Linked DNA regions of Homo sapiens: all the other regions are linked to region 2. The links are contacts of gene promoters, found by promoter capture Hi-C in blood cells and fetal thymus (Javierre and others, 2016). All regions are on one chromosome and are shown on one strand. The core of a region is centred on a gene start or on the middle of the fragment in contact, and the rest is flanking DNA. Distances in the headings are between cores, read along the strand shown.

Region 1 (3,748 bases), core at 1,024-3,523, 120 kb after region 2:
GAGCGAAACTGTGACTAAAAAAAACAAACAAACAAACAAAAACTGGGCAAAGGACATGAACCAACACTTCTCAAAAGAAGACATATACATGGCCAACAAGACATATACAAAAAAATGCTCATTATCACTAATCATTAGGGAACTGCAAGTCAAAACCACAATAAAATATCATCTCATACCACCCAGAACAGCTATGATGAAAATGTCAGTAAATAACAGATGCTGGTGAGGTTGCAGAGAAAAGGGAATGTTTACACACTTGATAATGGGAATGTAAATTAGTTAAGCCACTGTGTAAAGTAGACTGGAGTTTTCTCAAAGAACTTGAACTACTGTTTGACCAAGCAATCCCATTACTGGGGATATACACAAAGGAACATAAATTGTTCTGTTATAAAGACACATGTACACATATGTTCATCACAGCACCATTCACAATAGCAAAGACATGGAATCATCTAGATGCCCATTGATGGTGGACTGCATAAAGAGAATGTGGTACATATATACCATGGAATACTATGCAGCTGTAAAAAAAGAAAAAAGAAAAGTAAAATGATGGCCTTTGTAGCATCAGGGATGGAGCTGGAGGCCAAAATCCTTAGCAAACTAACACAGGAACAGTAAACCAAATACCCCCATGTTCTTCACTTATAAATGGTAGCTATGAATTAAGAACTCCAGGGCCTACTTGAGGAGGATTGAAAAACTACCTATCAGATATCACACTGATTACCTGAGTAACAAAATTATCTGTACACAAAATACCCATGACATGCAACTTACCTATGTAACCAGCTTGCCCACGTACCCCTTGAACCTAAAATAAAAGTTGAAAAGAAAACAACAACAACAATGTTATTTATTTATTTATTTCCTTGCTTATTTATATATTTATTTTTTGAATCAAATTGTCACTCTCTTGCCCAGGCTGGAATGCGGTGGCATGATCTTGACTCACTGAAACCTCCATCTCCAGGGTTCATGTGGTCCTCCCACCTCACCCTCCCAAGTAACTGGGACTACAGGTGCACACACCACACCTGGCTAATTTTTGTGTTTTTCGCAGATAATGTGTTTTGGTATTTTTTGTGGATAATGTGGATAGCCATGATACCATGGCTAACTCTGGTAAATTTGTTTTTTGATTATCCTTCTGGTTAAAAAATGACTACTTTTTTTTTTAAGTGACCTACGAGTTTGTTTCAATCAAGTGTTCTGTGCCTTTTAACATCTTTGGCAAACTTGCCCAAAATCAAATGCTAAATGTAAATCCCTTTAACCTAGAATTAATGTTTGAATTTTCCAGTTGGGCCCCTGAAAAGACTCAAAAGACATATCTCTCACCTTTTGGAGATATTAGATGATTAGGCCTATTTGATAAATTACATAAGAAATGGCTATTGTTTGAATATTTGACCCTCCAAACCTCCTGTTGAAATATTATCCCCAACGCTGGAGGTGCAGCCTAATGGATCATCTTTGGGTCATGGAGGTGGGTCCCTTGTGTACAGATTAATGCCCTTTCTGGGAGAGGACAGCGAATCAGTTTTCACTCTATCATCTCCCTCAAGAGTTGATGGTTAAAAAGAGGCTGGCCCCTCCCTCTCTTTCCCCTTGCCCCTGTCATTTCTCTAGTTCCCTCTCTGGCCATATAATCTCTTCAGAGGCTGCCTCCCCTTTCCTTTCCATGAGTGGAAGCAGCCTGAAGCTGTCACCAGAAGCTGATGTTAATTCCAAGCTTCATATATAGCCCATAGAACTGTGAGCTACATGAACCTCTTTGTAAGTTACACAGAATCAGATATGCCTTTACAGCAACACAACTGCACTGAGACAGAAATATGTAATACTAGATCTTTTTTTTTTTTAGATGTATTCTCAATGTGTCTCTCAGGCTGGAGTAGAGTGGTAAGATATCGGCTCACTGCAACCTTCTCCCCCTGGGTTCAGGCGATTCTTCTGCCTCAGCTTCCTAAGTTAGCTGGGATTACAGGCACCCACAATCACACCCAGCTACTTTTTGTATTTTTAGTAGAGATGAGGTTTTACCATGTTGGCCAGGCGGGTGTTGAACTGCTGACCCTCAAGTGATCCACCTGTCTTGACCTTCCAAAGTACTGGGATTACAGGCATGAGCCTGCGCACCTGACCAATACTAGATCTTCCTTTCATTGCACTTACGGGTTAATATAAATATTTCAAAATTAGGCTGGGCACGGTGGCTCAAGCCTATAATCCCAGAACTTTGGGAAGCCAAGATGGGTGGATCACAAGGTCAGGAGATCAAGACCATCCTAGCTAACATGGTGAACCCCATCTTTACTAAAAATACAAAAAATTAGCTGGGCGTGGTGGCAGGTGCCTGTAGTCCCAGCTACTCAGGAGGCTGAGGCAGGAGAATGGTGTGAACCTGGGATGCGGAGCTTGCAGTGAGCCAAGACTGTGACACTGTATTCCAGCCTGGGTGACAGAGTGAGACTCCATCTCAAAAAAAAAAAATTCAAAATTATATAAATTCATAGATCTCTAATATCAGTCATTATTCTTGTGTTTATCTTAAAATGCTATATGTAAATGAAATATCCAAATATCCTTGTTAACTATAAACTTTCATTAGATTTTTAACCATGGCTACTCTAAGCCAACATGCAAATTCAGGAAATACAGAGAACACCATTAAGATATACTACAAGAAGATCAACCCCAAGACACACAATCATCAGATTCTATAAGGTCCATATGCAGGAAAAAATGTTAAGGGCAGCAGAGAGAAAAGTCAGATCACCTCCAAAGGGAAGCTTATCAGACTAACAGTGGAATACTCAGCAGAAACCCTACAAGCCAGAAGAGAGTAGGGGTCAATACTCAACATTCTTAAAGAAAAAAATTTTCAACCCAGAATTTCATATCTGGCCAAACTAAGCCTCATAATCAAAGGAGAAATAAAATCCTTTTCAGACATATGAGTGCTGGAAGAATTTATCACCACCAGGCCTGCCTTACAAGAGCTCCTAAAGGAAGCACTAAATATGGAAAGGAAACACCAGTATCAGCCACTGCAAAACACATGAAATTATAAAGACCAATGACAGAGTGAAGAAATAGCATCAACTAGTGTGCAAAATAACCAGCTAGCATCAAGATGACAGGATCAAATTTACAAATAACAATATTAGCCTTAAATGTAAAGGGCTAAATGACCCAATTAAAAGACACAGCCTGGGAAACTGGATAGAGTCAAGACCTGTCGGTGTACTGTATTCAAGAGTACACACTTTACTCAGAATAAAAGGATAAAGGAAAATGTATCAAGCAAATGGAAAGCAGAAAAAAACTAGGGGTTGCGATTGTAGTCTCTGATAAAACAGACTTTAAGCCAACAAATATCAAAAAGACAAGTGTGGTCCATTCCAAAATGGCTGAATAGGAAGAGCTCTGGTCTGCAGCTCCCAGCATGATCAATGCAGAAGAGAGTGATTTCTGCATTTCCAACTGAGGTAACTGGTTCATCTCATTGGAACTGGTTGGACAGTGGGTGCAGCCCATGGAGGGTAAGCTGAAGCAGGGTGGGGCATCGCATTTCCTTTCCTAGCCAAGGGAAGCCATGACAGATTGTACCTGGAAAATTGGGACACACCTGCCCAAATACTGTGCTTTTCCAACAGTCTTAGCAAACGGCATACCAGCAGATTATATCCCATGCCTGGCTCAGCAGGTCCCATGCCCATGGAGCCTTGCTCATTGC
Region 2 (4,051 bases), core at 226-2,725:
CAGTCACGTTCTGCATTAAGAGCCTTTTAAATCTTTCTTAGCACCTAGCACTGTCCAACGCTCACATTACTGTGCTCCAATTTTCCAGCAAAGTTGTACAAAATGCTAACAAAAGTATTTTGAAGATGAAACTGTATAAGAAATTTCAAATAAAATCTCAATGTCATCATGGGTATATGAACCTACAAGTAATGCATGAATTGTCTTTCAAAAAGAAAAATACCTCTTCTGCCTATTTTCCATCTCTTACTCAAAAAAAGTACACGGACTAAAAAAAAGCTCGCTCGTTTAAATACAGCTCATCAAAAAAGTGTTTCCACATAAATGGGAAAAGTCGCCTTGGGGAAATTTTATTCCTCTGCCCTCGTGCTGTATAATTTGTACTGTACTGTCTATTGGACGAGTGCCTAATAACTTTTTCATAATAAATTCCAGTTCTATTTTGCAGATCCTCGAAGAGGCAATGATGGTTGAAAAATAAGCGCATCGAAGGTCCCCGAACAGCCACATAATGACTTTAATTAGGGGAAAATAAAATTTTCTGGAATTTATGTGCTCTCGTGAGCCTAGATGCCCGAATTGCCACCTGCTGAAACGGGTGGCTGTAGACTCTCGGAAGGGCACAGAGCCGGGAGCGCTGAGGGGCGAAATGACCCCGGCGCCCGAACGGACGCCTGCGGCATGTCACCTAAAGCGTAGCCGACACTGCACCCAGCCAAGGATGGGCTGTGAGGGGAAGGCCGAAAGGTGGCGCTGCCGCAGGCGTCTGGAACGTACGCGCGCATATGGCGACAAAGGCAAGGGCCGCCAAGGGAACGAGCACGCCCTGTTGCGCAGACACGCCGTCGCGCCGGAGGCTGCGCTGCCGCCGCCGCCGCCGTCCTTTTCCCCATCCCCGCCTCAAGGATCATAACCGAATTTTTTTTCCAGATACCGCCTTCAAGATGGCGGCTCCGCCTCCCGACAACACTCTCAATACTCCCCAGCAGCAGGCGCCTAGCAGCCGCCATCTTGCCCCCCCGTCCCTCCTCCCCTTCGCGGACATTTACATAGCGAAAATAGGCCCAGCAGGCCTCCGGCCTTCACCTCACGCCTGCAGCCTTCGCCTTCTCGCCCCCGTGCCGTGCCCTGCGTCCGCAGTGGTGTCGACCCCAGGTCCATCAACTGCCTTCCGGACAAACGGGCGAACTTTTCCCACCCTGCCCGCTTATGGAGCGCACCTCCGCAGCCGCTCAGGGCAACTGGATAATCACTAGGCCTAACTGCGGCCTCCTCGGGGCCTGTTCGGCGCCGAGCGCCACGCCGGCCGGCCTAGCGCGGGAGGGCGCCCTACGGGACGCCGACCAGGCCACAAACAGGTTACTGCGCGCGCACTAGGCCCCGCGGCCGCGGGGGCACGCGGGACTCACCCGACGGATGTGCGGGCGGTCGGCGACAGCGGCGGGTGCTGCAGGACGGCCTTTCTCTGGAGCACTGGGCCGGGCTCCGGCTGGTAGGGCGGGCGGAGGGAGGGAGGAGGGGCCGAGTTCGGAGCTGACAAAAAGCGGCCCAGCTCCCCGGCACGGGCCCGCCGTCAGCACGTCACGTCACCGCCCGGGAGAGAGACCCAGGAAAATGCGGGATGGTAGTTGGGCCCCCTCCGCCCGGTGGGCCTCTCGGCGCCCCGGGTCGGCGCCGGTCACGCCCCGAGTCCGGGGAGTCCAGTGACCTCACTGCGGTGGGGTCTCCGGCAGCTGGAGTTTCCGTCACAACGTTCCTTTTCTCCGCGCGCCCGCCGTCACCACTACTTGCGCACCACCGCCTTAGTTGGTTGCGTGCAGGCAAGCGGCCCCGCACCGGGCCAGGCCACCCCCTGCCATCTCCGGTGGACCTGGGATTCCTAATCTCCCACACCCTGCGCCAGGCTCTCCCGAGACCTATCGCCTCTCGGCGCCAGTCCTAGCCAAGGCGACAGATCTCATTGTTGCAGGCCCTTAGACCCCCGCCCTCAGTAAACGTGTTTACTTTATTCCTAGGGTTGAGGAGGAAAGCAGATACAGACATATAGCATTCCCCACTGTCTCCTTTGTTGGCTTTAAAAAAAAAAAAAAAGAAAGTAAATGGACTTGCCACAGTGTACAGGCAAGAGGAGGGGAGGATTATCCTAATCAATTACTGAGCCAATTGATTTTTTTTTTTGCGTTAACGTAGGTATTTTGACCAAGATTTGTAATGTCTAGTGTGTGTTCTTTATGGCAGTGTTTCATCTTTTGGCATCCTTGAAATGTCAGTTTTGTGTAATTGTCTCATGAACAATGAATTATGCACACCCTTTAATAAATGTAAACTAACAATTGGTTTTGGGATTGTCTTCTTACAAAATTATTTATCCTCTTAAAGTTTAAAAAGGCTTTAGAGACTGAGAGGAAAATGCATTTGATTAAACAGATAGTACTGATGAACTCCAAAAACGTGTATTGTGCGTTTTCATTACTTTACGTTTTAATGCACTCTAATTTCCCATTAAACTAGGTACCCAAACTGTGTTTAAAAGTTGCTACTAAAAAGTTAAACATGCCTATCGCGGTCGCTCACCTCTGAGCGCTTTGGGAGGACAAGGCTGGAGTATCGCTTGAGGCCAGCAGATACAGGCGGACAGCTGTGATCAAGCCACTGCACTGCAGCCTGTGGGCCAGAGCCGGTAATCTCTAAATGTAGAGGCCAGGTATTTCAGTTTTCTAGCATACCTATTTTTAAAACTCAGAAATCATCTTGTCCTTAACTGAGAAACCTAAAAATCATAAAATGCTTTACGAAAGGAAAACCAGTGGTACATAGTTGATATAATGAGTTAAGTGCTGGATAGCAATTCTCTTTTCAAACCATTGGTTTGACCTTGTTTTCTCAAGTCGTTACCTTTTGTTTCAAAAATGATAAATGAGAGGCGGCTCACCCCTGTAATTCCAAAACACTTTGGAAGGCTGAGATAAAATCAGCTTGTGCTCAACTGATAGTTGGAGACAAGCCTGGAAAATAGGGCGATCCATCTGTACAAAAAAATTGAAAAGTGCTGGGTGTGGTGGAACACGCCTGTAGTCCCAGCTATGGGAGGCTTAAGCCCATTTGTTTGGGCTATGATTGTGATACCACACTCCAGCCTTTATGACAGAGCAAGATCTTGTATTTAAATAAATAAAATCTTGTTTGAGAAATTTTCATCAAGTTAAGACAATGTATTTTGAGGAAAGAAAAGTATTTTTACATTATGTTTTTCAGTAAAAAAAACTAGCCTAATTTCATATGTAATTAACATAATTTCAAAATACTGATAACGTTCAAGTTTTTAGAGATGGTACCTGGCTCTGCCACGCAGGCTGGAGTGCAGTGGCACCTTCGTAGCTCACTCAGCCTTGAACTCTCTAGTTCAGTGTAACAGCCATGGCCTCCCAAAGCACTGGGATTACAGCTGTAAATCAAATATTTTCCAAAGGCCTTCATTTAATGTCCTTATGGTATGTCAAGAATGGGGTCTCATGTCAACTGTAAGCAACATGGTCAGAACACAAAAAACAAAGTAAACATTATTGTTAATACTTACATGCTTATCAAAAATCCTAGTATTATTATAAAAAATTACCAATATATAAAGCACTTCAGAAAGAACAGCTAAGGAATATAAAGGAAAAAAGATGTTTCCTAATCTGAAAGATCAGAGGTAGTTCAGATAAACTAAACAGCTTTTGACATTACTTTTCATTCATAATGTTAACTTTTGGTGAGAGACAAGGAAAGGATGGTCTAATTTTAGTTGTCATATAAGAAAAGTCTTTATTACAGTCCAAGAAAGATTATAAATGACTACAGATGAAGTCAACTATATTTACATCTTTTTACCTTCTCAAAGAAACACAACAGAGGGAAAATTTATATAGGGACAATGATGAGATAATATTTCAAAAGTATATTGTGAATACAAAATAACTGGCTGCAAAGCAAATAAACTTTTATTACTGATAAAATGTACCTGTTGTTCACAGTTGCTAATGTGTCTCAGCTTTGAAAGTAACTAACC
Region 3 (4,086 bases), core at 333-2,832, 110 kb after region 2:
TTGGGACATTTAGCCCATTTACATTTAAGTTTAATATTGTTATGTGTAAATTTGATCCTGGCATTATGATGCTAGCTGGTTATTTTGTCCATTAGTTGATGCAGTTTCTTCATAGTGTTGATGGTCTTTACAATTGGCATGTTTTTGCAGGGGCTGGTACTGGTTGTTCCTTTCCATGTTTAGTGCTTCCTTTAGGAGCTCTTGTAAGGCAGTTCTAATGGTGACAAAAATCTCTCAGCATTTGCTTGTCTGTAAAGGATTTTGTTTCTCCTACATTTATGAAGCTTACTTTGGCTGGATATGAAATTCTGGGTTGAAAATTCTTTTTTTTTAAAGAATGTTGAATATTGGCTCCCACTCTCTTCTGGCTTGTAGGATTTCTGCAGAGAGATCTGCTGTTAGTCTGATGGGCTTCCCTTTGTGGATAACCCGACCTTTCTCTTTGGCTGCCCTTAACATGTTTTCCTTCATTTCAACCTTGGTGAATCTGACAATTACATGTCTTGGGGTTGTTCGTCTCAAGGAATATCTTTGTGGTGTTCCCTGTATTTCCTGAATTTGAATGTTGGCCTGCCTTGCTAGGTTGGGGAAGTTCTTCTGGATCATATCCTGAAGAGTGTTTTGCAACTTGGTTCCATTCTCCCCCATCACTTTCAGGTACACCAGTCAAATGTAGATTTGGTCTTTTCACATAGTCCCATATTTCTTAGAGGCTTTATTCATTCCTTTTTATTCTTTTTTCTATAATCGTGTCTTTTATCTTTATTTCATTAAGTTGATCTTCCATGTCTGATATCCTTTCTTCCTCTTGATTGATTCAGCTAGTGATACTTGTGTATGCTTCACAGAGTTCTTGGGCTGTGTTTTTCAGCTCCATCGGGTCATTTATGTTCTTCTCTAAACTGGTTATTCTAGCTAGCAATTCCTCTAACCTTTTTTCGAGGTTTTTAGTTTCCTTGCATTGGGTTAGAACATGCTCCTTTAGTTCAGAGGAGTTTGTTATTACCCACCTTCTGAAACCTACTTCTGTCAATTCATCAAACTCATTCTCCACCCATTTTTCTTCCCTTGAGGATGAGGAGTTGTGTTCCTTTGGAGGAGAAGAGGCATTCTGCTTTTCGGAATTTTCAGCCTTTTTGCGCTGGTTTCTCCCCATCTTTATGGATTTATCTACCTTCGGTCTTTGATGTTGGTGACCTTCTGATGGGGTCTCTGAATGGATGTGCTATTCCTTTCTGTTTGTTAGTTTTCCTTCTAACAGTCAGCCCCTCTGCTGCAGGCCTGCTGGAGTTTGCTGGAGGTCCACTCCAGACCCTGTTTGCCTGGGTGTCACCAGCAGAGGCTGCAGAACAGCAATGGTTGCTGCCTGTTCTTTCCTCTGGAAGCTTCATTCTAGGGGGATACCCACCATCGTACAGGAGATGCCAACCAGAGCTCTCCTGTATGAGGCGTCTGTCAGCTCCTACTGGGAGAAGTCTCCTAGTCAGGATACACAGGGGTCAGGGACCCACTTGAGGCAGTAGTCTGACCCTTAGCAGAGCTCAAACGCTGTGCTAGGAGATCCGCTGCTCTCTTCAGAGCTGACAGGCAGGAACATTTAAGTCTGTAGAAGCTGCCCACAGCTACCCCTTCCCCCAGGTATTCTGTCCCAGGGTGATGGGGGTTTGGTCTATAAGCCCCTGACTGGGGCTCTTGCCTTTTTTTTTTAGAGATGCCACGCCCAGAGAGAAGGAATCTAGAGAGGCAGTCTGACCACAGCAGCCTTGCTGTGAAAGCTTTTTACAGTTTGGATCTTCTGAGAACATCAAAGAAAAACTGACCTTGCCATCCACACTACAGCAAAACTTAAGGACCTTGAACTTTAGGTTTATCATCTCACAGCTGAGAAGGGTCCCTCCACACTCTTGGAACTGTACATCCATTGGAACCCTTAAGGTAAAACTAACCAGGGAGGTTTCTCCCCAGAAGAGCATGCTGTCTTTGATGTAAGCAACTTTTCTAAAGTTCACAGATTAAGACTTCTACTATCATGAAACTTATCTTTGAAAATTTTATCTTGCTATGGCTCTATGAACAATAGAAATGGAAAGGAGGTCTCTTATATGCACTTATGGGGTGTACTTTTATTTGTGAATGTGTTTACAGCCAGCCTTATACATGGATAACTTTATACTTTGGTGGATACAAGATAAAGGCCCAATGTCAGTAAGAAACTTTAATGGTACATACATTGCCTCATAATCAATCAGAAACAAAATATTGGTTCATTCCTCTTAACCCACATCATGGGTTAAAGAGAACATTACCAGGAGGCCTTCACTCTTCCTGAAAGGCATCATTTGTTAGGTTTTTCTTCCATGGTTTAAAATAGAAGAAGCAATGATTACAAATGTATGCTCATGATAGGCTGTATAGCAAATTCCACTGTAAAGGATGCAACAAACTTTAAATTCTCTTTTGGAGTTCACACAGAATTGGCAGAACAGAGAAGTATCTCTCCAGTTGCTGGTACTCATGGCCTACTGGAAAAATTCACTGGTAGAAGATTAATGAAAAGACTGCTTAGTTAAGTATGTAGACTCTTTATCTAGCTTATCCTTTGATCTATTTAATCTTAAGTTCTGGTTTGTGGTACCTTAGGTAAAGAGCATACTCCAACTTCTTGGTATTATCCTCCCAATAGTCATGATAATACTCTCCCTGATGTGCTGTTGTTCTCTCAAAGGTTTTAAATGCTTGCCTGCAGCCATCTCTAGAATGGTCTCTCTTCAACTGGAATGACAAGAGCTGAAAGAAATCTGCAACCAGGCCAGGCACGGTGGCTCACACGTCTAATCCCAGCACTTTGGGAGGCCATGGTGGGTAGATCATGAGGTCAGGAGTTCAAGACCAGCATGACCAACATTGTGAAACCCCGTCTCTACTAAAAATACAAAAAAAATTAGCTGGGCGTGTGGCACGCACATGTAATCCCAGCTACTCAGGAGACTAAGGCAGGAGAATCGCTTGAACTGGGGAGGTAGATATTGCAATGAGCCGAAATCACACCACTACACTCCTGCCTGGGCGACAAGAGCGAGACTTCGTTTCAAAAAAAAAAAAGAAAGAAAGAAAAAGAAATCTGCAACATAACCTATGAATGATGTGCTGAGATGGGAAACCCAAAATGATGGTAAATCAGAGTGGCACTAAGGCCATTGTCTCACCATGGCAACCCAAAAAACAGCAGTCACAGTCTAGGTCTTTCCAGAAAGTAAATGTAGAGCCCCTGACAGAACACATTCCTCCTTACAGCACTATAATGCTGGAGAAGTGTCTGCTGCAGCTGCCATTGTTGCTGTTGTTCCATTTGCAACTTCTCAGTCTCAAAGATGACAGCAAGAACCAGGATCATAAAGGAGGTGGTCCTAATTGACAAGGCTGCTATGGAAAACCTATGCATAGTCTTAGCCACAAAGAGTGAAAGATCAAAAGTGGCTTCATCTATGGAGCCATTTTATGTTATTTGATAGCATAAAATTAACATGAAATGAAAATGTAAAGAGATGGGCAGGCATGATGGCTCACACCTATAATCCCAGTGCTTTGAAAGACTAAGGCAAGAGGATTGCTTCAGCCCAGGAGTTTGAAGTTGCAGTGAGCTATGGACCTGCCATTGCACTCCAGCCTGGGTGACAGAGGAACATCCTGTTTTTAAAATAAAATAAAAAAAGATAAAACATAAATAAAATATAAAGAGATGACTTTTCAAGCAAAGGGTCTATTTGGGAAAATACAAGAATTTCAAAGCCAGGTGAAGTGGCTTATTCCTGTAATCCCAGCACTTTGGGAGGCAATGGTGGATCACATGAGACTAGGAGTTTGAGACCAGCCTGGCCAACGTGGTGAAACACCATCTCTACTAGAAGTATAAAAATTAGCCAGGCATTATGGCATGTGCCTATAATCCCAGCTACTCAGGTGGCTGAGTCAGGAGAATCACTTGAACCCGGGAGGTAGAGGTTGCAGTGAGCTGAGATTGTGCCACTGCACTCCAGCCTGGGCAACAGAGCAAAACTCCATCTCAAAAAACAATTACAAATACAA

What was found. Contacts are between HindIII fragments. The CHiCAGO score rates a contact against its expected background, and 5 or more counts as called.
Region 1: a fragment that was not itself captured here is called in contact with the fragment with the promoter of ZFY in region 2 in 11 of 17 cell types (M0 macrophages, M2 macrophages, naive CD4 T cells and 8 more); the score reaches 10.5 in M0 macrophages.
Region 3: a contact is called between a fragment that was not itself captured here and the fragment with the promoter of ZFY in region 2, in 3 of 17 cell types (total CD8 T cells, naive CD8 T cells and naive CD4 T cells). The highest score is 7.9, in total CD8 T cells.

The regions. Positions count from the first base shown.
Region 1 is chrY:2,811,405-2,815,152 of GRCh38, reverse strand. No RefSeq gene overlaps it. Among named protein-coding and RNA genes, the nearest start is that of SRY, 26 kb to the right of the region's middle. The HindIII fragment of the contact is 1,060 bases long and covers 1,744-2,803 here.
Region 2 is chrY:2,932,805-2,936,855 of GRCh38, reverse strand. ZFY (zinc finger protein Y-linked) reads right to left here and starts at 1,475. Exons shown (of 8, transcript NM_003411.4): 1 at 1,087-1,475. The HindIII fragment of the contact is 5,223 bases long and covers 1-4,051 here.
Region 3 is chrY:2,827,375-2,831,460 of GRCh38, reverse strand. It overlaps the pseudogene TOMM22P2. Among named protein-coding and RNA genes, the nearest start is that of RPS4Y1, 12 kb to the left of the region's middle. The HindIII fragment of the contact is 390 bases long and covers 1,388-1,777 here.